Linked DNA regions of Homo sapiens: regions 2, 3, 4, 5, 6 and 7 are each linked to region 1. Evidence: promoter capture Hi-C in 16 types of primary human blood cells and fetal thymus (Javierre and others, 2016). All regions are on one chromosome and are shown on one strand. The core of a region is centred on a gene start or on the middle of the fragment in contact, and the rest is flanking DNA. Distances in the headings are between cores, read along the strand shown. Region 1 holds the start of NUBP1 (NUBP iron-sulfur cluster assembly factor 1, cytosolic). Region 2 holds the start of CARHSP1 (calcium regulated heat stable protein 1). Region 3 holds the start of USP7 (ubiquitin specific peptidase 7). Region 4 overlaps HAPSTR1 (HUWE1 associated protein modifying stress responses). Region 5 overlaps SNX29 (sorting nexin 29). Region 6 holds the start of GSPT1 (G1 to S phase transition 1). Region 7 holds the start of RSL1D1 (ribosomal L1 domain containing 1).

Evidence for each region. The method cuts DNA at HindIII sites, captures the fragments that hold promoters and counts their contacts. A CHiCAGO score of 5 or more calls a contact.
Region 2: a contact is called between the fragment with the promoter of CARHSP1 here and the fragment with the promoter of NUBP1 in region 1, in 1 of 17 cell types (non-activated CD4 T cells). The highest score is 5.3, in non-activated CD4 T cells.
Region 3: a contact is called between the fragment with the promoter of USP7 here and the fragment with the promoter of NUBP1 in region 1, in 7 of 17 cell types (non-activated CD4 T cells, total CD8 T cells, naive CD8 T cells and 4 more). The highest score is 13.9, in non-activated CD4 T cells.
Region 4: a contact is called between a fragment that was not itself captured here and the fragment with the promoter of NUBP1 in region 1, in 1 of 17 cell types (M0 macrophages). The highest score is 6.0, in M0 macrophages.
Region 5: a contact is called between a fragment that was not itself captured here and the fragment with the promoter of NUBP1 in region 1, in 2 of 17 cell types (non-activated CD4 T cells and total CD4 T cells). The highest score is 5.1, in non-activated CD4 T cells.
Region 6: a contact is called between a fragment that was not itself captured here and the fragment with the promoter of NUBP1 in region 1, in 1 of 17 cell types (total CD4 T cells). The highest score is 5.6, in total CD4 T cells.
Region 7: a contact is called between the fragment with the promoter of RSL1D1 here and the fragment with the promoter of NUBP1 in region 1, in 2 of 17 cell types (fetal thymus and total CD8 T cells). The highest score is 7.2, in fetal thymus.

Annotation. Positions count from the first base shown.
Region 1 is chr16:10,742,058-10,746,021 of GRCh38, forward strand. It overlaps NUBP1 (NUBP iron-sulfur cluster assembly factor 1, cytosolic), which reads left to right and starts at 1,785. Exons shown (of 11, transcript NM_002484.4): 1 at 1,785-1,825; 2 at 1,904-2,008. The coding sequence starts at 1,807. RefSeq lists an enhancer at 1,594-1,643. The HindIII fragment of the contact is 1,155 bases long and covers 1,202-2,356 here.
Region 2 is chr16:8,867,334-8,871,297 of GRCh38, forward strand. CARHSP1 (calcium regulated heat stable protein 1) reads right to left here and starts at 1,673. Exons shown (of 4, transcript NM_014316.4): 1 at 1,633-1,673. CARHSP1-DT (CARHSP1 divergent transcript) reads left to right here and starts at 1,948. Exons shown (of 2, transcript NR_186721.1): 1 at 1,948-1,995; 2 at 2,280-2,706. RefSeq lists an enhancer at 836-895 and a silencer at 1,036-1,995. The HindIII fragment of the contact is 19,717 bases long and covers 1-3,964 here.
Region 3 is chr16:8,961,885-8,965,848 of GRCh38, forward strand. USP7 (ubiquitin specific peptidase 7) reads right to left here and starts at 2,022. Exons shown (of 31, transcript NM_003470.3): 1 at 1,323-2,022. The coding sequence starts at 1,401. USP7-AS1 (USP7 antisense RNA 1) reads left to right here and starts at 829. Exons shown (of 2, transcript NR_184341.1): 1 at 829-1,010. RefSeq lists enhancers at 393-929, 3,626-3,964 and a silencer at 2,125-2,484. The HindIII fragment of the contact is 5,189 bases long and covers 1-3,964 here.
Region 4 is chr16:9,111,135-9,115,098 of GRCh38, forward strand. The region is part of intron 3 of HAPSTR1 (HUWE1 associated protein modifying stress responses); the gene reads left to right. Among named protein-coding and RNA genes, the nearest start is that of HAPSTR1, 21 kb to the left of the region's middle. The HindIII fragment of the contact is 2,580 bases long and covers 424-3,003 here.
Region 5 is chr16:12,077,094-12,081,057 of GRCh38, forward strand. SNX29 (sorting nexin 29) reads left to right here. Exons shown (of 21, transcript NM_032167.5): 11 at 1,740-1,822. Among named protein-coding and RNA genes, the nearest start is that of SNX29, 100 kb to the left of the region's middle. The HindIII fragment of the contact is 4,146 bases long and covers 1-3,949 here.
Region 6 is chr16:11,912,115-11,916,078 of GRCh38, forward strand. It overlaps GSPT1 (G1 to S phase transition 1), which reads right to left and starts at 3,842. Exons shown (of 15, transcript NM_002094.4): 1 at 3,255-3,842. The coding sequence starts at 3,606. RefSeq lists silencers at 2,972-3,021, 3,062-3,301, 3,392-3,461 and enhancers at 3,286-3,964, 3,832-3,964. The HindIII fragment of the contact is 866 bases long and covers 1,675-2,540 here.
Region 7 is chr16:11,849,358-11,853,321 of GRCh38, forward strand. It overlaps RSL1D1 (ribosomal L1 domain containing 1), which reads right to left and starts at 2,185. Exons shown (of 9, transcript NM_015659.3): 1 at 2,051-2,185; 2 at 922-1,061. The coding sequence starts at 2,155. RefSeq lists enhancers at 1,347-2,546, 2,319-2,853, 2,854-3,387 and a silencer at 2,115-2,301. The HindIII fragment of the contact is 5,793 bases long and covers 1-3,964 here.

The DNA of each region.
Region 1 (3,964 bases), core at 535-3,034:
GCATCTAGCCCAGTGCTGGCTGGGACCATGTGTTACTAAGTGCAGGCTCTGCAGCCAGACAGACCAAGTTTATCACCCTGGTTCCCCTGCTACCAGTCATGCGACCTCGGGAAAGTAGTTTACTTTAAGCCTCAGTTTCCTTATCCAAAAATGGAGACAGTAGGACTATGAAAGGACATAAATTAGGTAATTCACATGAAAGCACAAAGATGACAGCTGCCAAACGGTAAGTATTCTACAAAATGCTGGCTATAATTAGTGGTAGTGACAGGCAGCTGATACACTGCTGTTTAATAAATGTTTCCGAGGCCGGGTGCGGTGGCTCATGCCTGTAATCCCAACACTTTGGGAGGCCAAGGCGGGCAGATCACGAGGTCAGGAGATCGAGACCATTCTGGCTAACATGGTGAAACCCTGTCTCTACTAAAAATACAAAAAATTAGCCGGGCGTGGTGGCCTGTAGTCTCAGCTACTCGGGTGGCTGAGGCAGGAGAATGACGTGAACCCAGAAGGCGGAGCTTGCAGTGAGCCGAGATCCCACCACTGCACTCCAGCCTGGGTGACAGAGCGAGAATCCGCCTCAAAAATAAATAAATAAATAAACGTTTCCATATTCTTAGTGTCTGGGGCTAGGTAAAGTTTGTTCACTCATTAATATTCCAGGTGCCAAACCTGTGAGCAATGACACTCCAGTAGCAATGAGCATTTGTGGCATCCACATCTTGGTTTCTGAACTGTTGTCTGCTAAAAAGTAACCAAGGCTCCCTGAAGAAATGACTGCAGCAGGGAGAAGGGATGACTGAAACATCTTGTATCAGAAAGCAAGAAAATGCTCAAAGAAGCTGGATTAGTGCCCAAAGAACATAAGAACTGTCTTGAAGGGGCTTCACTGGCCACATCTGGGGGAAAAAAAATCGACCAGAAAGAATAATAATTGATTATAAAAGACAATTTTAAAAAATCCAGGAATCCATAGTGAGTCTTCGAAAAAAAAGAAAAAAAGAGAGGGTATAAAACTGATATATATTTATCATATATATAATCTATAGTTTTATATATATATATATAAATGCTGCTAAAATCACTGAGTGAAAGGCTGATAGAGAAGAAGATGGTCCCAGAGAGTACCTGTTAATTACAAATGGAAGAAGGAAACATTAAATGGAGAAATGGGGCAGACACCACCTTTAGCAAGCGATCAAGCTTCACATTACCAAAAACGGGACAAACTGACATTATCCAAGTGTGTTCTGCAGGAAAAAAGAAAAATTAACCTTTATCTAATTACAAGGCAAGAGGGAGGGGAGGATTAGACAAATCAAGAATATGGGATATTCTATTACACAACTGGTCTGGACCCGTCAAAATTATCAAGGTGATGAGACCCCCCCTAAAAAAAGAAGGACTGATCTGAATTAAAGGAGACCGAAGAGAAATAACTCCAGGCAGTGAGTGAATCCAGCAGGGGAGGGGGTCTAACAACTGAAATTGAAATATAAACTGTCTATTGGCTAATACTGCATTGGCTAGTACTGCATCGATATTAAATCTCTTGGGTATGAAAATGGCACTGATGTCATGAAGAATGGCTTTGTTCTTAGGAGATGCACTGCAGAAGTATTTATGATAGGAAATCTCTGAAAAGGAACAGACGTTGAGTCCCAGTCTTTCGGCCCAAGGTTCGCGCGTGCGCACAGCCCCCTTTCCGAGACTTATTTCGCGCGGTCGGAGAATCAGATTGTGCCCACAAGGCGGAAATGTACGACAGCGGGTTCCGGTGACCACGAAGGCGGCAAAGGCGACGGAATGGAGGAGGTGCCTCACGGTAAGCTCGCGGAGGGGGCGTGGGTCGCGGGGCGAAAGTGTCGGGAGCTGCTCTAACTGTGGTCTTGTCTCTGCGCAGACTGTCCAGGGGCCGACAGCGCCCAGGCGGGCAGAGGGGCTTCATGTCAGGGATGCCCCAACCAGCGGCTGTGCGCTTCTGGAGCGGGGGCCACTCCGGACACGGGTGAGAAAAGGGCAAGGCCTCAACAGGAACTTAGAGGCGCAGGCCCGGAAAAGGCGGGGCGTGGGAGGGAGGGGGCGGGATCTGCAGAATGACTGACAGCGGCAGGCTAGAAGGTATTGTATTCGGAGAGGGGTGGGGCCCAGAAGGGGCGGGGCGTGGAAAGTGGGCAGGGTGAGGGCGGAGCTTGGAATGACTGACAGGAACGAGGCCTTTAGAAGGCGAGCGCGAAGGACCTGGCGCGGATGGAGGGTGGAGACTGACCGGCGCGGAGTCGAAAGGGACATTAATTAAGAGGGTCGGGGCCAGAGGTTTGAGTGACAATAACAGACCGCAGAGAAAAACGGGATAAGCTTCGAAGTCGGGGAGTCTTCGGACTTACATCCTGGCTCTGCCAGCTACTTTCTTGACACAATTTTCTTCCTTTTGAGGAGTGATTCTCCCACTCATTCAGCAGAAATGTGTTGATCGCCTCGTAGGTTTGGTGCTGTCCTGGGGACACAGCTGGGGATCAGGCGTGGTCACTGCTCTAGTGGAGTTTAGCTTTACTGGGGAAACAAACACGTGAGCTAGCAACTAAACCACCGCAGCTTTAAGTGCTGTGAAGCACAGATTCCAGGATGAGAGGACCCAGGGAGCCTGCTCAGAAGGACCTTAAAAAGCAGGAGGCAGGAGGACAATATTTTTTTTTCTTTTTTTTCCCCCTTTTTTTTTAGACAGAGTCTTGCTGTGTAGCCCAGACCAGAGTGCAGTGGTGTGATCTCGGCTCACTGCAACTTTCACCTCTCAGGTTCAAGCGATTCTCGTGCCTCAGTCTCCCGAGTACCTGGGACTACAGGCGCCTGCCACCACGGCTGGCTAATTTTTATATTTTTAGTAGAACCAGAGTTTCACCATGTTGACCAGGTTGGTCTCGAACTCCTGACCTCAAGTGATGCATCTGCCTGGGCCTCCCAAAGTGCTGGGATTACAGGCATGAGCCACTGCACCTGGCCAAGGGGGAGAATCTTGAAGGAGTTCAGAGAGAGACTTGGATTTGATTCTTGGATCCATGCGGTGTGACCTTCAGCAATAGTCCTAACCTCTCTGAGCTTCTGGTTCCTCATCAAAAATGGAGACAGGCCGGGTGCAGTGGCTCACGCCTGTAATCCCAGCACTTTGGGAGGCCGAGGCGGGTGGATGGATCACTTGAGGTCAGGAGTTCGAGACCAGCCTGGCCAACATGGTGAAACCTGTCTCTACTAAAAATACAAAAATTAGCCAGCATGGTGGTGCATGCCCGCCCTCGAGGCTGAGGTGGGAGGATCACTTGAACCCGGGAGGTGGAGGTTGCAGTGAGCTGAGATCGTGCCACTGCACTCCAGCCTGGGTGACAGAGTGAGACCCTGTCTCAAAGAAAAAAAAAAATGAAGAGAAAAATAGTTATCTCTGTCAATGCAATGGAGAGACTGAACTGAGCCTCAGTGGAGGTTTATTGGGCCAGAGCTTGAGGGCGTGCCCTGGAAAATACAAGTGACAGAAACATCTGTGGCCTGTGCTCGATGGAGTGGTTCCAGAAGGCTGGTGTTTATATATTTCATTAAAAGGGGAAAAAGCATGCAGGAAAAAGTGCAGTAGGCCTCGTGGCAGGTAGTTACATTCTTGTGAGGTTTTAATTCGTGCCCAGTATATCTACACTATTCAGAAAATAAAGTAAACATTCAAAAGAGGGAATAAAGGAAGAATTAATTAGGCAGACGTCTCAGGGTAGGAGAGGAAGGACTATCTCATCCCATCTTTGTTTGGCATGTGGGAGGATAAGCTTGTAATGGACATGGTCAGTGTGGCGTTTAACAGACATCAGTAATAGGGAAGGAGTTAGACTGAGGTTACAGTCCTAAAGTTACAGTTGGCATGTCCTTGTTTATGGGAGGATACTCATCTTCAAAGATTTAGGGGCCAGCAAAGGAGTTCCTTAGG
Region 2 (3,964 bases), core at 423-2,922, 1.9 Mb before region 1:
TGTCAAAGGGGACAGGAGCGGTGCTGCGTCGCAGGGCTCGGACGCTGTGCAGATGGTGCCGCGAAAATGCCAAGCGCACGGCGGGCTCAGTCCACAATAGTGCGGCTGATGGTGGAAGTGTCAGGCACGGGCCCATCTGAAATCACCTTCCCTCCCATTCCTGCCCCTGCTGATGGAACACAAACCAAATGCGCTGGCTTTGCCACTCGGTGGAACAAAGACCGATCCCCTACCTAGGGGACCCACCGTCAACCACCCTCAACCCCACCCCATGGCCCCACGCCAGGCCTAGCTCAGCTCATTGAAAACATCTACTCCCAGCCGGGCTCTGCGCCTCTTTCTTGCCCTGAAGGGACCAGCATCGAGAACTCACGGTCATCACCGAGGCCACCCAGGGAGTGCAGAGGGCGGTGGGGTCTCCAAGGAGGACCCCGAGCCCAGAGGAGGGCCAAAGGCCCGAAGGGAGGGAGAACAGAGGCAGAGAGAGGCTGGAGAAGGTAGTGGCGGAAGATAACAGGAAGCCCTGCTGAGAAGTTGGGGACTTAGACGACAATGGGACTTCGGTGGACGATTTTCAGCGTGGGGTAGATCTAAGCGGATTGTTTTTCTAAGTTCCCTCTGGCTTCAGAGTGGCAGCAAATGACAGGGGCAAGCAAGACTGGGCACAGAGAGACTGAGAAATATCAAAACAGCAAGTTAAAAAACAGTAGCTTACGTGTCTCCCGGCACGGGGCTAGCTGCCTCCTTTTACTCTCACACACCCTCTCATGCCAGAAGAAGTCAGAGCCCAGTCTGCAGATGGGGAAACTGAGGCTCCGAGAGGCCTCCTATTTGGCAGAGATTTCCCCACCTATTAAGACCCAAGGCCCTGCCTGGAGCGGGACGTCTCCGCCTCCCCCAGCACACACATCCACTCCAACCCCAGAAAACCATAGGGCCGGAGGCTTCCTTTTTAAAAATCAAAAAAGAACATTTCACTTCCGGCCTGCAAACCTGAACCGCCAGCGCAGCCTGCGGAAAGGGGGCCTGTGGGCGCGGGTGAAGTTTTTCTCCAGCGCCTAAGGCACCCCCACCCCCATCCGGGCGCAAACACCCGGGCCCAGCGCGCCCGGCGGCTCCTCCTCCCCCAGATGCGGCTAATCGCGCGGCGCCAGGACGGCTCCCCACCTCCCCCGCCGGGCCTGGCCGCCGTCCCAACCTCGAGCCACAGCTGGCGCGGCCAGGCCCGGCGGGGGGTGGCTCTGCTTCCCGCGTGCGACGCCCCCCGCGCCTCGCCCCACCGCCCGGCGAGTCCCCCGTCCAGGGCTCCCGCCCAAAGGCAAAAGCAGCGGGGAGGGCGGGAAGAGCTTCCCCTGCACGCAGAGAACAGGTGGCCAGGCGGGAAGTACTACCCGACGTCCGCCTAGAATCCTTGCCGCTGTTGCCACACCCACCCCTTCCCCTGGGGAGGAGCAACCCGCGTTCCCCAAACAGGCCCCGAGAAACCCAGCCCGGAGCCCTCCTCTGCCGAGCTAGAAGACCCTGCAGGATGGGGGACGATGGAGGCAGAGGAGGCCGAGGCCCCACCCCTGCGGCTCCCGGGGCCGCGGGCCAGGGGCGCCTATCCTGGGGTCCCCGAGAAGAGCTCCCTACCCTGCAATCCGTTCTGCTCCGCCAGCCGCTTCGCTCCGACTGAGAGCGCGGAGCTGGGGAGGGGGCGTGGCCCGAGGGGGGGTGGGGCGCCGATCCCCGCCCCCAGGAGCTCCCGGCCAATGGGGCTGCGGGAGGGAGCCCGGGACGGTGGGGGCGGGCGGGGCGGGAGTGGCCCGGACAGGACCTTTGTGTCCGCGCCTTAGACTGGCGGGAGAGCGGAACGCAGAGCGCGGGACGTAGGGGCCGGGGCGGGGCGGGGCGGGGCGGAGCTGGGCTGCACCCACCAGCAGAAAACGCCCCTGCAAAGTGGGGGAACTGTGTCCCTGCGCCCGTGCAGTTCCTTCCCCTCGCCACGCGCGCCAGGTGCGGCTCCCACCTGCCTTTGGCTCTAAAATCTGTATAATCCCGGAGGGTGTCACTTTTAGCAGAAAGGAAATAAAGGAATGAAAAGAGAGACGGAAGAAAACAAGCAAAAAACAGAAAGGAGGAAAAGGGAAAGAAAAAATACACACGCACACACACACCAGAAAAACAGGGTTTTGTTTTCTCGTTGGGGATTTTGATTTTGTTCTCTTCTCTTGTTTCATTTCTAGCCTTCCTTGAGTCCTCTGTTTTTGGAGGTAAAAAATGTTACCTCTGTTTTGCAGGAGAGGAAACTGAGGCACAGAGAGGCGACCAGCCCATGGGCACGGCCAGTCGAGAGCAGCCCCTGAAGGCGAGCCTAGATCCCGGGACCAGGGTCAGCTTGGTATTTGAGGGGCGCGGGGAAGGAGAGAGGTCCCCGGAGCTCGCCCGGGACAACAGGGCCCCCGGAGGCGGCGGTGAGGACTGTGCCTGCCTCACTCTGCAGCCCCTATTGGGGCCACTGGGGAAAAGGCCCAGCAGCGAAACCAACTAGTCCAAGCCAGGCAAGGAACCGTCCTAGACGGCTGGTGGGAACAACCGCGCAGCTGCTGTGGAAAAAGCCCGGCGGTTCCTCAAACCACGAGCCCTGGAGTCTCCATAAAACCCATCAACTCCACTCCTAGGTGTCTGCGCGCCCAAGAGAAATAAAAATGTTTGTCCACACAAAAATTTACTTGAGGCCGGGTGCGGTGGCTCACGCCTGTAATTCCAGCTCTTTGGGAGGCCGAGGCAGGAGGATCACTTGAGCTCAGGAGTTGGAGACCAGCCTGGCCAACATGGCGAAACCCCGTGTCTATGAAAAATACAAAAATTTGCCGGGCTTGGTGGCGGGTGCCTGTAATCCCAGTTACTTGGGAGACTGAGGCAGGAGAATCACTTGAACCCGGGAGGTGGAGGTTGCAGTGAGCCAGGATCATGCCACTGCACTCCAGCCTGGGCGACAGCGAGTCTCCGTCTCGGGGGGGAAAAAAAGTTAAAAATAAATAAATAGGCCGGGCGCGGTGGCTCACGCCTGTAATCCCAGCACTTTGGGAGGCCGAGGCGGGCGGATCACGAGGTCAGGAGAACGAGACCACGGGGAAACCCCGTCTCTATTAAAAATATTAAAAATTAGCCGGGCGCGGTGGCGGGCCCCTGTAGTCCCAGCTACTCGGGAGGCTGAGGCAGGAGAATGGCGTGAACCCGGGAGGCGGAGCTTGCAATGAGCCGAGATAGTGCCACTGCACTCCAGCCTGCCTGGGCGACAGAGCAAGACTCCATCTCAAAAATAAATAAATAGATAAATAATGATTTACTTGTTGGGCTGGGCGTGGTGGCTCACGCCTGTAATCCCAGCACTTTGGGAGACCGAGACAGGAGGATCTCTTAAGCCCAGGAGTTTATGACCAGCCTGGACAACATAGTAAGACCCCTTCTTTACCAAAAAAAAAAAAGTTTTAATTAGCCAGGAGTAGTAGCACCCACCTGTAGTCCCAGCTACTGGGGAGGCTGAGGTGGGAGGATCCCTTGAGCCCAGGAGATCGAGGCTGCTGTGATCCGTGACTGCACTGCTGCACTCCAGCCTGGGTGACAGAGTAAGATTTATAGCAGTATTACTCATAGTAGCCAAAAGGGAGAAACAGCTCAGATGTCCATCAAGTGATGAAAGGATAAACAAAATGTTGTGTATCTATACAGTAGACAACTATTCACTCATCAACAGGAATGAAATCTTGATGCAAGCTACAACATAGAGGAACCTTGAAAATATGCTAAGAGAAAGAAGCCACACAAAGGCCGCACTTTGTGTGATTCCATCTGTATGAAATGTTCTGAATGGGCAAATCTCTAGAAACAGGAAGTAGATTAAGGGTTGCCAGAGGCTGGGGGTGGGGGTGCGGGCTAGACGGTTGATACTTAAAAGGTACAGGGGTTTCTTTTTGAGATG
Region 3 (3,964 bases), core at 772-3,271, 1.8 Mb before region 1:
TCCTTGGCGTGGACTCCGCTCTTCTGTCCCCCATTACTGCCATTGATAAATACCACTGGGGAGTGCCTACTGCAGAATCCCAGCCACTTTGTCATTTGCAACCTGGCCAGCCATTTTTTCAGTGACTATCCAATTACTGGAAGTAAGTTATTCTATTCAGAGGTGAACACCAGTCACGCTTAAGTGTTCCCACCAACCGGTGTGCAGCGCCCCACACTTGGAGCCACCGCACAGGACAAATACTGCTTTTCCTGAGCTCCCCTGGAGCTTCATTCATTGAGGCAACCCAAGATCCCTTGCTAAAAGCAAAACTAAAGCATTCCACGCCGTTTTCATTCAGGTGGCCTCCATTTGACTCCCGACAGCCTGAACTCGTCACGTAGGTAAGAAAACTTTTTAAAGACCATTTGGACTTTGCTTTGTTTCAGTGAAATGGGTCGTGAGAAAAAGTGCCTTCCAACGACCAACTCCCTAAATCCAACACCCTTCTCTTTACAGCGTCTTCACATCCAACCTTTACAACCAAGACTCTATACCTCAAACTACAGTGCCTTGGAAAATTACTGCCACATCGGCAGAAAACCGAGTTACCTTTCGAGTCAGGTTTGATTCTGATGCAGGCAGCCATGTGCGGCAGGGCTTTCGCACGGTTGCAAGCGCACACCTGGCCGGATGCTGGCTGCACCACACACTGCCAAGTACAAACTCCCCGAAAAACAGGTGGATTCGGAAACCAACAGCGCCCGGGTCAGAACTCTGGGCCAGTCCAAAACCTGACAACATCTGCGTTCCTTGCAGGTATTTTCGAACGTAAGCCCGACGCTAGGCAGTGCTGTTAGAAAGTGATTTGGAAGAGCGCTTCCGAGCCACGGCGCGCCCTCCGGGGGAGCGCACCGGAGCAGGTGCGGGCGAGCCCCGCGCCCGGGGAGGTCAGGAATTCCCCAGCCACACCAGATCCAACCGGACGCCCCAGAACGGGGACGGTCCCCGGAGTCCGCCTCCCAACCTGGGTGAGAAAACACCTCCGTCCCTCCGCTGCCTGAGCGCTCGAATTTACAACTCAGGGCGCTTTGTGCCGCGGAGGCCCGGCGGACGCGAGGTCGGGACAATGCACGGGGCCGGGGTCCCGGCGGCCGCCCCTCGCCCGCGGACCCGGCATGACTTTGCAGCCTCGCAGGCCGGGGCCGGGAGGCCAGGCCGAGGCCCGGCGGCCGCCCGGGGCCTGGTTAAAGATGGCGAGCCCCTCGCGTGGCTCCCGCGGCTCCCCCGGCCACAATGAAAGGCGCCCCCCGGCCCCGCCGCGGCCGGCCCTCGGGCCTCACCTTCCATCTCCATGTCCTCGGGCTCGCTCAACTGCTGCTCGCCCGCTTTCTGCTGCTGCTGCTGCTGCTGGTGGTTCATGTCGGCCGCGGCCTGGGCCTCGCCTGCGGCCGGGGGCCGGGGCTGCGAGCCCGGCGGGCGGGCGGCGGCGAGCCGGGGCGGCGGCGGCGGCGGCGGCGGCGGGGCGGCCTCCTCCTCCTCCTCCCGCGCGTCGTCGGCGACGGCGGCCCCGGGGCGGCCCGCGGCGGGCGGCGGCGGCGGCAGGGAGACGCGCACGTACTTGCTCGCGATTCGCCCAATCTCGGCGCCGAGGCGGGCGGGCGGCCGGCGGGCCGGGCCGGGCGGCCTCGTCGCTCGCTGCGGCCGCCGCCGCCGCCGCCGCGGGGCCCGCCTCCCGCCGCCGGGGCCGGGGCCGGGGCTGCGGGGCCGCGGGCCGGCCGGGGGCGGAGGGCGGCCGGTCGGGGGCCGCGGAGTCAGCCCCGCCTCGGGCCGGGCGCGGCGGACGGGAGGCCTGGCCGGCCGCGGCGGGCCTGCGGGCCCTGGGGCCGGCGGGAGCGGCGGAGCGGGCGGGCGACGGGCCGGCCGCGTTCCGAGAGCCGCGGCCTCCGCCTCCTCGGCGTCGTCGTCGGGGCTCCGGCAGCGGACGCGGCGCCCGGCAGCTCGGCTCGGCTCGCTCTCAAAATGGCGGCGGCGTGAAATGTCACATCCGCATGGGGGGCCGCGGAGCGAGCGAGCGAGCGAGGAGAGCAAGCGGGCGGGCGCCGAGCCGGAGGGCGGAGCGGGAGCGCAGGGCGGAGCACGGGAGGCGGAGCAGGGAGCGACCCGCCTGCCGCCGCCGCCGAGGCCCGCCTGCCCCGCAGCGCCGCGCCCCGGCACCGCCTGCGCCGCAGCCCCGCGGCGGACCCTCGGCGCTCCCTGCCCCCGGGCCCTGGGGGCCGAGGCGGGCCGCCCGGTGACTTAGCCCTGCGGAGGTGAACCGGAATCCTTCCCATCCTGGGGAGCCGGACACCCCGAAAGACCCAGGAGCGGCAATGAGGAGGGGCCCAGAAGCCACCCGGCAGCCGGGGTTCAGGTCCCAGCCTAGCGCGCCGGGGCGAGCGCTGGAGGTTGCCCGGGGACTGCTCGGGATAGGGCCCGGAAGGGAGCTTGGGGTCAGCGCCTAGAAGTTCCTGTTATTGTCGTTACTTACCCTTGCCCGCTGACGTGCACTTTTTCACCCAGTATCTACCGTGGAAGAATTTATTTTCTCACTGTCAGCCTAATCTGGCAAAGTTTGGCTCCTCAAGAGCAACCCCAGGCGGGGCGCAGCTGCTCACACCTGTGATCCCAGCACTTTGGGAGGCCGAGGTGGGAGAATCACTTGAGGCCAAGAGTAAGAGACCACCCTCTCTACAAAGGTTTTGGGTTTTGTTTTTATATTTTTGAAATGTATTTTTAATTAGCCGGGTGTTGTGCCTCCTGCCTGTAGTGACAGCTACTTGGGAGGCTGAGGCTGGAGGTTCGCTTGGGAGGTTGACTGAGGCTGCAGTGATCAAAGATGGCGCCACTGCACTCCAGCCTGGGCAACAGAATGAGACCCTGTCTCAACTAATAGTGATAATAAAATAATAATATAAAAATAAAACAAGCCCACTACCCTTCACATTTGGTATTAATTTACTTCCTTCCTATCAACCCAGTCTGGGATCATTCACCCGGGGCCTCCCTATTCCAGGAGACATTTGGTGAATATATCTCCTGTCCTGTCTCATTCAGTCATTGACAGACTGATGATTAGGGTCTCAACTTTTCCAGTTAATCAAGGCAGTGTGGGTCAATAAAAATGGAGCAAACCGATATACATTTCTACACATCTCAGGGGAGAATAGAATTTCACCCTAACAAGGCCAGAAGATTGTGGTACCTGTCTTCTCTCCATCTCCCTATACCCGCTTTCCCTGCATTTTTCTCCCATTTATGTACTGTTCATCTCCCTTCCCCCCGAAAGAATGTTTTGCTCACTGTTGTATCACAAATGCCTGGGATACACAGCAAGTGCTCAATAAAAATTGGTTGGGCCAGGTCGGCGCGGTGGCTCACACCTGTAATCCCAGCACTTTGGGAGGCCAAGGCGGGCGGATCACTTGAGGTCGGGAGTTTGAGACCAGCCTGACCAACATGGAGAAACCCCGTCTCTACTTAAAGTACAAAATTAGCCGGGCGTGGTGGCGCATGCCTGTAATCCCAGCTACTCAGGAGGCCGAGGCAGGAGAATCACTTGAACCCGGGAGGTGGAGGGTGCGGTGCGGTGAGCTGACATCGCGCCATTGCACTCTAGCCTAGGCAACGAGCGAAACTCTATCTCAAAAAAAAAAAAAAAATTGGTTGGGCCAGGCACGGTGGCTCACGCCTGTAATCTCAGCACGTTGGGAGGCCGAGGTGGGCGGATCACCTGAGGTCAGGAATTCGAGACTAGCCTGGCCAACATGGTGAAACCTCATGTCTACTAAAAATACATACAAAAAACTTAGCCGGGCATGGTGGCATACGCTGGTAATCCTAGCTACTCAGGAGGCTGAGGCAGGAGAATTGCTTGAAGCCAGGAGGTGGAGGCTGCAGTCAGCTAATCACACCCCTGCACTCCAGCCTGGGCAATAGAGGGAGA
Region 4 (3,964 bases), core at 464-2,963, 1.6 Mb before region 1:
CACATTCACCTTTCAGAATCCTTTCTTCTCTGTGGAAACCCACACTCTCAGCAGTGTGTGGGAACACAGTAGATTCTTAAGGAATGCTTGTTGAATGTTGCAGTCTGCATCTTCTTGAAGTAACAGAACTGTTGGTAGCTGTTTAAAAGTAAAATGTGTCTAAAGACCTTTTGGAAATTAAGATGTAAGAGATTAATGCACCAAAGCAGTCTCTTAATTACTTAAAATGAATTATTTCAAAGAATCTTTAATTGAATTTTCTGTGAAGTCTGGAATTTGTAAATTATGTCCCTTTGTTCAAACCAGCCCCTGAAAAGAACAATTAAGGCAATTAAGATAGCATTAAAGTTTTCAATGAAGTTGGCATTTTCTGTGTATTAAGATTAGATGTTAGCTGCTGAAGTTTGTGGAGGTCGGACATAAAGCTTCCAACATCAGTAATGCAAAATTGTCTTGAACCTGCGATAAAATTTTGTTGGACTTTTTTTTCATTGCAGTGAAAAGGGCCATGTAGCATGCCTCAAAGCCAGGTTACTCAGCCTAGTCCTTGTTTAAGCAGTTTTGATATTCATTCAAGTTCAATTTTCTCACTGATTTTATGATTAATTTCTTGGAAAATTTGAAAGTTTTCAAGAAGTAAAAAATTAATATCTTGTTATCCCAGTATATAGAGATTAACTTCAGTTCAATGTTTGGTGCATTTTCTTCTAGTCTTTTTTTCAATGTATAAATATTAAAGTTATTTCATAGTTGAGATCATACTGCATATATGATTACTGTATCTTGCTTTTTTCATTTTAACGTCGTGAGCAATTTTCCCATGACATTACAAACTGTCTTTGAAAAATGGAAAACATTTGGGGCTGTCAGCATAACTGAAAATGTTTTCTTGGTGTGACACATGTATCTTTGTAATTGGTTTGATTTAGTGTGCTTTATTTCAATAAAAATTCAGTATTATAATTTACAGATTGGGGTGGGGAGTGGTATCTACTTCAAATTACTGAAATCTTCCTAGTAGAATTCCTTTTTAAATGTTTGAACTCCCCTGGTACATCTTAAACACGACATTGACACTGCAAGTGCTTGGATGTCCTGGCACCTCAGAACACAACTTTGTGCAAAAGGAGTGCTGTGCATCTGAATAGTGCAATTCATTTCCAATGCAAGAATGCCAGTTTCTTAGGGCCCCCGGTCAGGATATTACCCACTTGGTTTAAGTTGTGATTTCAAATCCCATTTTCTATGGGAGATACACTGGTGGAACAAATCTGCAGAGGGCCCTGCACCTGCGCTGGTGGATCAACGGTGTCTTCTCACCTCCAGGGCTAGCTGCCTTGCCTTCCCTCGTGGGGCTTAAGTGGCTGGGAAGCAGATAGACAGTGTAGATGAAGTCCTGGGCCACTGGCTGCTGGACTGAGGCAGTGAGATGACTGGGCTGGCATTTGTTCTTTCTCTGCCTGTGTGTGACCTCTAACTATGTGCCTGGAAACTGAATTACATGTAATTAATGCTGCAAACAGGATTTTCTTATTGCCTAAGCATGAACTTGGTATGAAAATAATAGTTAATAATTTACTATGTAACTTGGATTCTTATAACCTGGACTGTAAGTTTGTTTTAGCTCCAGTGGGAGTTTCCTTTTCAAAGTATGATGAAACCATCCTCATCTTTTCTACCCCTGGACTAATCATTTAAAATGGATACAGACACTTTAAAACTGCTGAGTTTATCTTGTGTTAAGCAATTAAGACTTCTCTGTCTAATCATGCTACTTGTTCTGCTTTTGTCAATTGATACTCTCATAGCCCTTTTGAAAAAGTATGTTTTTGTAGAAATTAAGTTGTATGCCCTCAGGACGTACAACTTGGTTTTTTTTTTTTGTTTTTTTTGTTTTTTTTTGTTTTTTTTTTAGTTCTGAAGCATGTTTAGATTTTTCTGTACTTGTATAGGTCTGATTGTTTATGTGGCTTAGCTAAGGTTTCCTAAAGCATCTTCTAGTAGCTGTCATTGGTTTGTAAAATAAAATTTGGGCTGTCAAAATGCACATTTTTTGGTTGTTAATCTTAATTATTTTTGACCCTTGTGAAAAGTCTTTTTGGGGAAGATTAGGTAGGCAGACTTTGAAAATATTTTCACTGCTATGAGAGTCAGTCATAGATCATATTGCACATTAAAGTTATCAAGATAAACACCCAGGTCATACACCCAGTAGAAAAAGATGATTTCCCAGAAGCTGTTAGAATTTTCAGATTGACCAAATTGATGTTTAACACATCTTCTTTTTCATGGAGAATGGCAGCTGAAACAATAAGGAACATTTGCTTGAAATCCCTAGTCCACTTCTGATACAGTGTTTTGAGCCTTCCATATTTGTTGTTAGGTATTAAACGTGCTGCCATGAGACTCCTATGTTAACAAGGGCATTAGGGTGGGGTTTGTTGAATTCTTTTTATAATTTGAAATGATAAAGGGGATCTTGATTTTAATTATTGAAGTAGCCCAGTTTATTGCTGAACGTGCCCATATTTTGCCATAATAATTACCTTTTGGATTATGAAACAAGTACGAAAGGTTATCTTTGAAGAACATGGGCACCTTGTAATATGTTACAGGCTGAGACACTAGGATGAAAGAAGGCACATCTCTCCCCTCAAGTTTAGTCTTGCGGTAGAACTTTAAAAAAAAGCCAACAATGGGGATAATTGAGTTTTAAACTTGATGGCAATGATTTAAGTGAAGAGAACACCTGGGTTTATTTTCTGGTGTTGGAGAGGTGAATAAACATCAACAGTTGAACCTTTGATTTCAGTGGATTTCAACATGAGGGGGTAGGACTTTGAAGTATTATTCTTTTTCAGAATTCGTAAGTGCCAGGCACTGTGCTTAGGTCATTAGATGGAGATGAAAAGATATTTTCTATAGGAAGAGACGGTTGATTGTACCATGCTGTAGAAAGATAGCTCAAGATTTTTTTTTGGTTTATTTTGTTTTTTAAAAGTAAGCTTGTGCCGGTTGGGGAAGAGGAAGTGAAGTTCCTTTTTGATGGTGTTGAGTTTGAGATGTCCAGTAGGCAGTTAGAAATCTGGGAGGGCCGTTGAGCTCATTAGTCTAGTTTTGGGAAACGTGTGTGGGTAAGGTAGGGGTTGAGGATATCACCCAGGGTGACACCAGCCTTTCAGGGGCAGAAGGGAACCCCACCAAGGCGACTGAGGAGTGAGCGGAGAGTTTCAATTTCAAGGAGGGGGAAAGAGGAGCCAGCAGGAAACTAAAATGGAGAGGTAGGAGAACCAGGGAAGGAGCCTCATAAGGGAGGTGCTGGGGAACAGGTGGGCTCACTCAGGGAGTGAATGTTGGGAGAGACAGACATTTGCAAATGTTGGAAGAGACAGATAGTTGCAGGCCTCACTATTTCAGAGAGCTGCAAATTGCATGATGTTGGTAGTCGGGATACGGTCTAAGGGTGAAGTGAAGAGAGCAGGAAGGGAAGAGAGAGAAACTGTTCAAAGAGATGAGGCCTAAGAGGCAGGCTGGCCCTAGGACCAACCTGAAGCCACCTTTTTGCTAAAATACTCTAGGCTTGGAAGAGGATCAGAATAACTGAATAGGAATATAGATTACACTTGGGTGGGAGTGCCAGCTCTTGTTTACTACCTGTTGACCTTGGATGAATTAACTTTTAAACTTGGGTTTTCACCTGCAGAATGGAGATATTATAGGTGTCATAGGAAGTAATTGACATAGTACCTGACACAGGAAGTATTCTCATGTTAATGCTTCTATTTTTTAATAGGTGCTAGCCTTGGAAAGGTTGAGAGGCTGAAGAGGGACAGTTTGATTTCCTCTGACCACCAGCAGGAGGGGAGGATGTGTCTTCTGCAGGGAGAGCAGCCAGGGGGATTGGTTGGATCAGTGCAGAAAGGAATGGGGGCACCTAGAGTGCGGAGTTGAGCACCTCAGAAGG
Region 5 (3,964 bases), core at 627-3,126, 1.3 Mb after region 1:
GAGACCCTGTCTTTACAAATAAAACAACAACAAAAATTATCCAGATGTGGTGGTGCATGCCTGTAGTGTCAGCTACTTGGGAGACTGATGTGGGAAGATCACTTGAACCCAGGAGTTCAAGCCTTCAGCGAGCTGAGATTGCACCACTGCACTCCAGCCTAGTTAACGGAGTGAGAACCTGTCTTAAAAAAAAAAAAATTGGAAAATGCAACAGTAAATGAAAAAAGAAAATCAGTCTTAACCCTCAACTTCATTATGTTGTTGATGTTTTGGTACTTTTCCTCCTAGTCATGGTGTGTGTGTGTGTGTGTGTGTGTGTGTGTGTGTGTGTGTGTATCTCTGTTAACCATGTGATGACCGTGCTGTTCTCACCAAAGACACTAAACTTTATTTTTCATGTTGTAAATTATTTGTAAACATACAGTTGATTCTTATTATTCCCAGTAGTTGTATTCTATAAAGTTGCTATGAAGACTGAACCAGTGCTCCTAGGGGAAGTACATGGTTAAGTTGCTTTGAGGCTCTGGTCACACATTTTGTTTTTGAGATGAACTGTTGCTCTTTTGCCCGGGGCTGGAGTGCAGTGGCGTGATCTTGGCTCACTGCAACCTCTGTTTCCTGGGTTGAAGTGATTCTCCTGCCTCAGCCTCCCAAGTAGCTGGGATTACAGGCATGTGCTACCACACCCAGATAATTTTTGTATTTTTAGTAGAGAAGGGGTTTTGCCATGTTCGCCAGGCTGGTCTCGAACTCCTGACCTCATGTGATCCACCCGCCTCGGCCTCCCAAAGTATTGCGATTACAGGCATGAGCCACCACACCTGGCCTGGTCACAGCATTTTTATCAACTGATCAACACATAACCTGGTTTTATGTCTGTTCCTGTTTAAAGACACCTTGTTTAATGTATGCAGTTGATTCATTAACATTGAATTCACAGCCAGCAGCACTGTAAGCCATGCCTGAATGAAGCATCTCTAACTCACAAATTATCTCCATACGGCACATCACAGCCTTCCTGTGCTTAGGAACTGTCGGCAGTACCACTTCAGCACTGTGCTTGGGGACATTTTAAACAATAAAATCAAGTGGAAAAAAAGGCCGGGTGTGGTGGGTCATGCCTGTAATCCCAGCACTTTGGGAGGCTGAGGCAGGTGGATCACTTGAGGTCAGGACTTTGAGACCAGTCTGGCCAACTTGGCGAAACCCCATTTCTAGTAAAAATACAAGAATTAGTCGGGTGTGGTGGTGCGGGCCTGTAATCCCAGCTACTTGGGAGGCTGAGGCACAAGAATCGCTTGAACCCAGGAGGTGGAGGTTACAGTGAGCCGAGATCACGCAAAAGAAAGAAAAGTGGAAAAAAAAATGCTAAAAACATGGCAGTAAATAGACAGCAAAGAGGATGCTTGTTTACGGTGTGAGATCTGAGGTCCCAGCTGTTCGACTTCAGCTGAGATTATGCACATTAGGGAGTGAAATTATTGGCCTCTGCACGTGTTCATGAATGATTGTGAAAGCACCTCAAGTATTGACTTTGGGGTTACAAATAAATTTTAGTGCGTAGATGAATTTCCAAATACGGAATCTGCAGATAACGAGGCCTGACTAATTTCCAATGACTGCCTCTATCCCTTCTAGTAGAGGTACCGGAGTAAACCGACCTCTGCTAGTTTTTGGAATGGTGAGGGTGTGTACTTTCAGTGGCCGAGTGTAACTTCCTCCTGCCTGCTTTTTCCTAGTGTGGAAGCCAGCTCTCCAGGCCACGGAAGTCCTCTGAGCAGCCTGTTACCTTCTGCCTCAGTGCCAGAGTCCATGACAATTAGTAAGTACTTTCGCAGCCCCCTCCACCAGCTCTGGGATGACTTCTGGCCCACGTCTCATGGCGGTGCCTTTGTGCTTCTAACCCTGTGACTGTGGGTTCACGTCAGGTGTGTACGTCCCTGGTTGTAGACTGGAGGTGTGGTACGTGCTTGTGGATATCCAGAACCGTGGTTAATGCGTGGCGCTTGGGCGTGTGCGCGCTAAAGGGCGTGCCTCAGGATGGAGCAGCCTTGCCGTAGACTTCTGTGGTTCCAGGTTTTGGGGTTTGCCTCCCATAATGCAGTTAGCTACAGAGGACCTATTCTAGTTGGATTTCCTTTGTAACTCTGAAGGACTCATTTTTGTAAGTGAAGAAGAATATGTCTCTCCAAGATGATTAAACTTTGCTAATGATCAGGCTTCAACTGTTTCCAACTTTACTACCTAGAAAAAGTATTAGAGATATAGCAAGGAAGACTAGGTTTGAATGGCTTTGTATAACAAAGAATAAACCAACTGTTATGTAAACTGACGGGTGCTCCTGGTATCTCACTGGTGGCTTGAGCCAGCATTTGTCCCATGGCCTCCCCTGGAGGCAGAGGGGGCACTTGTTCCCAATTAAAAAAAAAAATTAGCTTTTGTTGCTAAGGAAGGAAGAAGGCGTTTGGGAGGCACCTAGCATTTTCTGATTCAAGGGTGAAGCAGGAAGTGAGCAGACACTATGTAAACCAACAGTTGGTTTATTTTTTGTACACAAAGCCATTCAGACCTACTCTTCTTGAAGTTCCGGTGGTTAAGGAGATGTGATGGAAATTTCTCTCTATCCAGAGGTAGATGGGCTGGGGCTGGTATGTGGCTCCACGGCCATCAGAGACCGGGACTCCTCCTGTCTTGCCTTGTAGACCAAAATAGCCATTTTAGCTCCAGCCATTTCATTCTCATTCCAGGCGGCAGGAAGGAGGAGAGAGCAGAGAGACTTCGTCTATTTCTACATATAGGATTCAGGGGCCTGAGCTTGGATAGGGAAAAAAATTACAATGTTTTTCATTTAGCTCTGGGTGAAATATAGTATTTTCTTCAATCATGATCATTCTATTTTGATGTAATTGGTTTCCTTTGTGATATGGTATGTTTTATATATTTTAATACATTTTCCTGAATAGGAGCCCATGGTTATTCCTAGATTACAAAATGGGCTCTTGGTACAAAAACGTTGAAGCTCCCCCGACCTTCACTAGAAGGTGCTTACAGTATACCACTCGTGTCTTGGGCCAGCATTCATGTCATGGTCCCCCTTGGCTGCAGAGGGGGCAATTGTTCTTGATAAAAAGGAAATTAGTTTTTGTTGCTAAGGAAGGAAGAAAGAGTTTGGGAGGCACCCAGCATTCTTTGATTCAAGGGTGAAGCAGGAAGTGAGCAGACACCGTAAGGCTGCTGCGTGGGAACGGCTGGCCGCACTTTTTGTATGTGAGCATGTGTGGTTTACTGTGGCGCTGCTCAGCCCTGAACTCCGCTGAGCAGGTGTTAATAGATCACTCAGTCCATGGGACACAGGGTGGGTGAGTATGTAGCTGGCTGCTTTTCACCTGTCAATCTTTTGTTTACCACAGTACTGTTACTTACCCTATAGTTTACTTTATTATTCATTTTTATTTATTTATTTTTTTGTAGAGTTGAGGTCTCACCATGCTGTCCAGGCTGGTCTTGAACTCCTAGGATCAAGCGATCCACCCGCCTCAGCCTTCCAAAGCGCTGGGATGACAGGCATGAGCCACCGTGCCCGGCCTACTACAGTTTACTTTTTTTTTTTTTTTTGAGACAGAGTCTTGCTCTTGTCTCCCAGGCTGGAGTGCAATGGCACGATCTCAGCTTACTGCAACCTCCACCTCCTGGGTTCAAGCGATTCTCCTGCGTCAGCCTCCCAAGTAGCTGGGATTACAGGCCCACGCCCGGCTAATTTTTGTATTTTTAGTAGAGATGGGGTTTCGCCATGTTGGCCGGGCTGGTCTTGAACTCCTGACCTCATGATCTGCCGGTCTCAGCCTCCCAAAGTGCTGGGATTACAGGTGTGAGCCACCGTGCCCAGACTGTAGTTTACTTTTAATGATGCACTTAAACAAATTGAATTCCTTTATTTTTTGAAAAAGGAAGCTTTATCTCACTA
Region 6 (3,964 bases), core at 858-3,357, 1.2 Mb after region 1:
GGCAGATCACCTGAGGTCAAGAGTTCAAGACCAGCCTAGCCAACATGGTGAAACCCCATCCCTGCAAAAACACACACACACAAAATAGCTGGGCATGATGGCAGGTGCCTGTAATCCCAGCTACTCGGGAGGCTGAGGCAGGAGAATTGCTTGAACCTGGGAGGAGGAGGTTGTAGTCAGCCGAGATCGTGCCATTGCACTCCAGCCTGGGCAACAGAGCAAGACTCCGTCTCAAAAAAAAAAAAAAACAAAAAAAAAACCTCCTCTTCCAATAAATAAGGCATTCAGCAAATACGGAACACTACAAAACAGAATGTTTCTCTTTAAAATTCAAGTTCCACAATACAATCTGCTAAGTTTTGGAGACAGTGCCTCCTCCAAGTAAGTACTGAGGGCTGCTGGTTTTATTCCATGCTTGTTTCTTAATGGCAGTGAGTTCTGAGAAGCATTAAAGGTGGGATGATGCAAAGAACACCACATCATTACTTTAGAAGCTCTGGCTGTTCTAAAAAGTTCAAGTAACCCTAAAATTACTAAACCAGTTTCTTATCTAACAATAAAAAAAACTAGGTGCAAATTGCAACTTAAATACATCCTATCAGATAAAATGCTTGTTCTAATATACATTAAGCCTTGTCTTCTATATTTTTATTCACTTGGGGACCTCACTTTTTAAGGAGAATCTCTTGGCCAATTTACTTGGCTCTAGAGAACTGTGCTTAAATGAATTACACTTAATTACACTTAAATGGGTTCCACTTAATTATTTCTTAAGGAACCTATATTCTTTAGTTTTCAAAGAGATCCAAGGTCAATACTGAATCCCAAGGTCTGACTCTCCAGGCTCCTTCAACAGCTTTCCCGGCATGCAGTTTAAAAACACACCCAGCACAAATTTCGGCTATGGCTTAACTAAAGAACAGAACATGCTAGCCCTATTGTCCACTTCCTCGCTATCAAAAAAACCTTGCAAACTTTTTGGTTCCCCCTTTGTAAGTTCCAATCCAGGTGTTATTTCCTATTTATCCCCCTGCTTTTTATAAGCACTGATTGTTCTCCGATGCTGGCTTTTTATGGACTTAATAGTCTGGAACATGCAATCCAACAGTCTCAATATAACCCTGGACCTCAACTTAGAAAATCAGTTCTTTTCCAAATAGACATCCTACATAGGATAATTTTTTAAAAACATGAACTGGCATTTTGGTACAAGCAATTGGTAAAGTCGGTAACACCAAAATAGTTTTTTGATTAAAAACAAGAAAGTTGACCATGCTGTACGGATTCTCTTACTGACAGCTACTTCCCTACAGGTTTTCGCATCTCCAATTTCTAGCACTGTCAAAGAGAAAAAGATTAGGTGTAACTACAAATTAGCAACTATCAGGAAGAGAGAAAGCCCGCATAAGAGGTAATACCTAGTCACCAACAGTGACCATTCTAGACCAAGGTTGGTTATCCCCGGATGACTCGCTGGACAGGCTGTAAATGGAGTCCTGAGTCTAGTCAGAGTGGTGCTGGTGGCTCCACAGAAAGGAGGAAGAGCCAAGAAAGAAAATGGCTGGATAAACGGAATCTGCAAAGTAAGGTAGGGAATGGGCACTTTTAGGAGCTGAGAAGTGAACTAGGTTAGGCAGTCAAAATGGCTTGATGTAAGTCAAGAATTACAAGCTAAGCTTCCTTATTCAAGAGGAAAACATTGTCTAGAGCCGTACCACCCTGAAAGTGCTCGATCTCCTCAAAAGAAAACATCAACCACCCACACAAATAAATGCCACTGTCAACAAAACCACCAAATCAACCGTGCTGACGTACATACGTCATCAGAGTGTTTCTCCAGACACTATCCCTTTACCACGAAAGAGCAAACGGTGACAAAAGTTTCTGTAGAAACCAAACTCCTGGAGCACTTTTATAATGTCCACTTATCTAAGAACCACCACAATACAGAACTTTAAAGAGAGAAATCAACAATATGTTCTCACTTAAAATGCGCTGGATGTCATGACCCACCCCACTAACGTCCTGGCTAAATGATGAAAGGACGTTCAGCCTTTTCCTTCCTTTTTCATTTTCTCTTTAAGGAAACACTGATAGTTCCTAAAATAAGCACCATTAGGAAGAGAATACTTAAGTTCACTCATTTGACATTCCCACAAAATCAGTACCTGAAAGCAAGCTACCTACCACAAAATAAGCACCATTATGAGAATACATAAGTTCACTCACCGGATATTCCTACAACGTCAGCACCTGCAAGCATGCTACCTACGACTTAAGCAACCCCTAAGTACGGGAAGATGTTTAAAAACCAAAGTTAACTCGAAATTTTATGGATTAGAAAATGTATGTCTACTAGCTACGGTCAGAAAGACACGTGAGAACTATTAAATTATAACAAATGCTCAAGTGTCTGAAGAAATAGACTGAACTACTGATGCACGAACACAGTGAGTTATTCCAAGCAATCTGAATAAGGTCAACGATTTTACAGCAATGAAAATTCTCTAAACGTGTCGCTGACAAAGGATAAAAGTGTAAGCTTCACTTTAAAAAGACACAAATCAATATAGTCTCCTATCACACATTAAGTGAGGAATCCTAACTTTGTGGCACTTTGTAAACTTTAGAAGCGTACACAATGCTAAGGGTAAAACAGATCTTGGTATTGATAGCCAAGTTTCTGCCCGATCACAAGGCTGCAATGCATCTTGGGATTCCTTCAGGACGGTTGGGGGCCACGGACAGTTTAAACCGTAATTACAGTTTCAATAGTAGAAAACGCAGCAGAAGACGCTCTCTCGGCTGGGCCTAAGGTGAAAGGAAAACTCGGCCATTCGTCCTCCCCAACTCCTGGGATCTCTAAACGCCCACCCAAATGACTCCTGGCTCCATCTGTCCTCATTCTGCGCCTCGTGGCAGGGATCCGCCGCGGCCCCCACTCCGTTCCATACGGTTCCCATCTCAAGTGGGTAACTGCGGACTCCAGAGCAGGGCAGGGGCGCGGAGGGGCGGCACTCGGGTCCGGGTCTTTGGGCGCGCTGCCCGCTGTCCGCTCCCCGCCCGGCCACCGCCGCGGGCCGCCCCGCGAAGGCCGGCTCCCGGGCTCGGGGCGCCCCACCCAGGCAGACGGCGCCACTGTCAGCGCCCCACGTGCCGACCGGGCCCCAGGGCCGCGCGCCCCCGGACCGCACCCCTACGCCATGTGGGCTCCGGCGCCCGGCCGGACTTCCTCCCGCGTCCCGGGCCTTTACCCGCACGGCCTCCCGCGCCGCTGCCGGCTCCGTGGTTATTGGCGGCGCCGCCAACTGGGGGTGGCGGCGCTGCCGGGCCCCGCAGGAAGGACGGCACGAACTCGGCGGCGTGGACGTTGGGCACGAAGGGCTTGGCGTTGACGTTGAGTTGCCGGCTGAAGGCCGCGCTGAGGTTCTCCCGCTGGGCCTCGGCCGCCGCCGCCAGGGAGCCGCCGCCGCCGCAAGGGCCCGGCCCGGGGGCTTCCATGTCCGCCTGGTCCCAGCAGTCAGGCGCCGAGTCGCTGCTGCTGCTGCCGCTGCTGCTCCCGCCGCCGCCGCCGCCGCCGCCGCCGCCGCCACTGCCCGGATCCATGATCGGGGGGGCCGTGTGTGTGGTGGACAGAGAGCGGGAAATGGAGGCAGGGGCGCCCGGCCGGAGAGGAGTGGGCAACGCTGACTGAGGGAAGGCGGCGGGGCAGAAGGGCCGGGAGCTAGCGACAAAGATCCCCGGCGTCGCCGCGGCAGCAGCTCCAGTCCCGACTCCACACTCGCGACGACGACAGAGGCGGCGGCGGCGGCAGCTCAACCCTCCTCCTCGTGTGTGTGAGCGGATCTCCTCCCACCCAACCACCTCCGACGGCCTCACAGCCAACCCCACCCCCGGCGCGGATTGACCCCTCGCCGCCACCCGTACCTTCGCCTCGGTAGTTCTCTGTTCTGGCCGCCCCCGT
Region 7 (3,964 bases), core at 935-3,434, 1.1 Mb after region 1:
AGCTGGGCAACAGCGCAAGATCTCGTCTCTTAAAAAAAAAAAAAAAAGGAGAGATAAAAGAATCGAAACCAAAAACATGGACTAAACCAAGAGGGACCAGCAAACACAATTATGCCACATCTTACAGAAAATAAAATACAAGGGTTTAACTCATTTCTTATGCTTACAACCTATGTTCTGAAGAAGCATTCTGTATAATCACCATGGATTTCTTTTCCATAGACAGAAATTCACTGCAGTTTTTAATAGTCTCTGTACAAAGGAATAAATTGTAGCCCCAAAGAATTTTTGCTTGACATGGAAAGATAACAGTTTCTAATAAAAAAATAAAATAAAATAAAGCTGTTTAACTTATTCCACCTTTATTCTTTCGAACACCACGTTTTCGATTCAACAGACCTGATTACGTTAGCTGTCCACCAAGCTCTAAGAAAACTGGTGAAATTTCTAGAAAATTTTAGCACATCTGAATTTCTACGGTTCTTTTATTTTTTATTATTTTTTATTTTTTTGAGACAGAGTCTTGCTCTGTCGCCTAGGCTGGAGTGCAATGGAGACATCTCCGCTCACTGCCACTCTCCTGCCTCAGCCTCCCGAGTAGCTGAGATTACAGGCACCCGCCATCATGCCTGGCTAATTTTTGTATTTTTGGAGAGACAGGGTTTTACCATGTTGGCCAGGCTGGTTTTGAACTCCCGACCTCAGGTGATCCGTCCACCTCGGCCTCCCAAAGTGCTGGGATTACAGGTGTGAGCCACCACATCAAGCCTCTATGGTTCTTTTGGACATAGTTGTTTTACTTCACGTCAGATTTTTATTATAAGTTTGCAAAGTTTCCATTAGTAACCATGATGCAATTGTTCGAGTTACAAAGAATAAACACACAGATAAAAACAGCAAAGGTAGAAAATCACAACTTACAATCTGACCCTCAGTTCTTTACTTGGAATTTTCCATAATACCACCATTAAAAATAAACTTTCATTCTCATTCAAAAGCAACCCATAATTGTTTTTCCTGGACTTGCAATGCGTCAAGAGAGCGTCCACTGCCTTTCTAACCTGCAAAGTGGAAATTAGACAAATAAGTGAAATGTTTTCACAATAACTTACACAAATAAATGAAATGTTCTCAATCTAATTTAGCATTTGCCCCCTCCCACACCTTCTATTTTTTCCCTTCCAACTTCTATTTCAAGGGGTAACCTCCATAACCGTATCTATTAGGATCCTGCAGTTTATATTCACAGAAATCTAAGAATCCATCAAACATGCCTAAGTACCCACTTCCAGTACTGTGTGCAGAAGGGCACCTCTTCTACTTAAAGAGATTGGGCTAGAGGGAAACGTGCCCCTCCTGCCCTCAATGATGAAAGCAGTAATCCCAGGAAAAACGCAAAGCAAAATGCATTTAGCATTTACTGAGAACTCCTGGCAATTCTCCTGCCTCAGCTTCCCGAGTAGCTGAGATTACAGGCGCCCGCCACCACGCCCACCTAATTTTTGTATTTTTAGTAGAGACGGGGTTTCACCATGTTGGCCAGGCTGGTATCGAACTCCTGACCTCAGGTGATCCACCCGCCTCGGCCTCCAAAAGTGCTGGGATTACAGGCGTGAGCCACCGCGCCCGGCCTACTGAGCACCTTCTTACCATGTACCAGGCCAAAGCGCTTTACACTCATTACCTCTCCCGATCCTGGATAACGGGGAGCCGAAGGGCCCACTTTAAATAACGGGTAACAGACCTGCAAAACTAAGCGATTCGGTCAAGCGCTAATGATAGGGAAGCTAAGCCAGGTCGCCAGGTCTATCTCATCTAGCTCCACAGCACACTTGCAACCCAATTCACTAGCGCCAGGCCGCAGGACCAGGGAAAGCAGGCGCCCACCCACGTGTGTAAAGGGGAGAGACAGCTGAGGCACACGGCCCGCCAGCGACCGTCCCACAGCCCCGGGGAAGTCCGCCGAGCACGCACTCGGGTTCCGGCACCCTGCGCCTCACGAGGTAACCGCCACACTGCTTCCAAGCCACCCTCCCCAGGAACCACTCACCTGTTCTTTATCCAGCTGCTTCCGTGCTGTCGGGGCCGCTGGAGTCGAGGTGGAGGTTCCAGTAGCGGCTGCAGAAGACAGCGAGGCCGAGGCCGAATCCTCCATCTTGTTTCCACCTCGTGAAGAGGCGCGTGTGCAACCCCACTGCTGGCTTCTGGTGCGCACGCGCGAGCAAGCCCGGCCCCGGAAGCGAGGGGGCGGGAACCGAGCCTCTGTGCGTCATTTCCGGGAGAGCGTGGGGTTTCGCTCTCCGGGGCAGTGGCTGCTGTCAGAATCCCTTCTTTGAGGAGGCACCTGCTCTTCCGCTTTTCTCCAGCTTTCCATGAGCTGTGGGGAGTAGCTTGGGTGTCCTCTCACTCTTACTAGATAGAAATCAAGAAAGCGCCTTGAGGCGAGAGAAGAGTCCCGTCAGGAGGCCCAGTGGGGTCCTCCACACTCCACGGTCCCCGCCTCCGGGAAGGCCGCGCGTGGCATGGGCAGAGCGCGGAATCCTGGCTCCACTGCCCACCTGCCCGTTGACTTTAGGCGACGCCAACCCCAGGCTGGTGAGGAGTCCCTGAAATATAAGGCACGGGAGCCACCCGGAGCCACCCGACCTGCCACGTTAAGCAGCATGAGGGACCGAAAGATGAGTCTGGGCCAGTCTCTTAGGAGCTTCTGGTCTCGCAGAGAGGCGGGAGGTAAGATCCTGTACAAATAAGCGTGGCTGGTCGTGCGCGTGGCTGGCGTCTGGAATCCCAGCGCTCTGGGAGGCCGAGGCGGAGGGATTCCAGGAGTTGGAGACCAGTCCGTGCATATACGAGACTCCGTCTCTCCAAAAATTATAAACATTAGCCGGCGTGGTGGTGCGCGCCTGTAGTCCCGGCTACTTGGGAGGCGGAGGATGGAGGATCTTGAGGAATTCGAGGCTCGGTGAGTTCTGATCCGCGCCACTGCACTCCAGCGTAGGCAGTAGAGTGAGACCTTGTCGCTAAACAAACAGGTTAGGAGTGGAGGCTGGATAACTGACAAATGGAATACCTTAGAACAGGGGAGTCCAATCTTTTGGCTTCCGTGGGCCACACTGGAAGAAGAATTGCCTGGGCCCATATATAAAACTAATACTAATGATAGCCGACGAGCTTTAAAAAAAAAATCTAAAAAAAATCTCGTAATGCTTTAAGGAAGTTTACGAATTCGTGTTGGGCTGTATTCAAAGCCTGGCCTCCAGGGCCGCACGCGGCCCTTGGGTAGGACAGGTTTGCTTTGTAATGTCTTCCTCCCACTCCACCCGCCTCCCCAGAGGTACCCTTACCAGTGTCTCCTGGAACCTTCCAGAGATGTTCTAGGCATGTTTAGGAGATACTTCTCCTTTCTCTTGTTGGATGGGTTTAATTAATTTTTTTCCTTTTTTTTTTTTTTTTTTTTGTAATGGAGTCTCGCTCTGTCGCACAGGCTGGAGTGCAGTGGCACGATCTGGGCTCACTGTATCCTTCGCTTCCCGGGTTCAAGCAGTTCTCTGCCTCAGCCTCCCGAGTAACTAGGATTACAGGCACGCGCCACAACGCCCGGCTAATTTTTGTATTTTTAGTAAAGATGGGGTTTCACCATCCTGGCCAGGCTGGTCTTGAACTCCTGGACTTCATGATCCACCTGCCTCGGCCTCCCAAAGTGCTAGGATTATAGGCGTGAACCACCACGGCCAATTTTTTTTTAAAGAGGGAGTCTTGCCCTGACGCCCAGGCTGGAGTGCAGTGATCTTGTCTCACTGCAGTCTCTCCCTTTCGGGTTCAAGCAGTTCTCCTGTCTCAGCCTCCCGAGTAGCTGAAACTACAGGCGGACGCCACCATGCCCGGCTACTTTTTTTTTTTTTTTTGAGACAGAGTTTCGCTCTTGTTGCCCAGGCTGGAGTGCAATGGCGAGATCTCAGCCCAC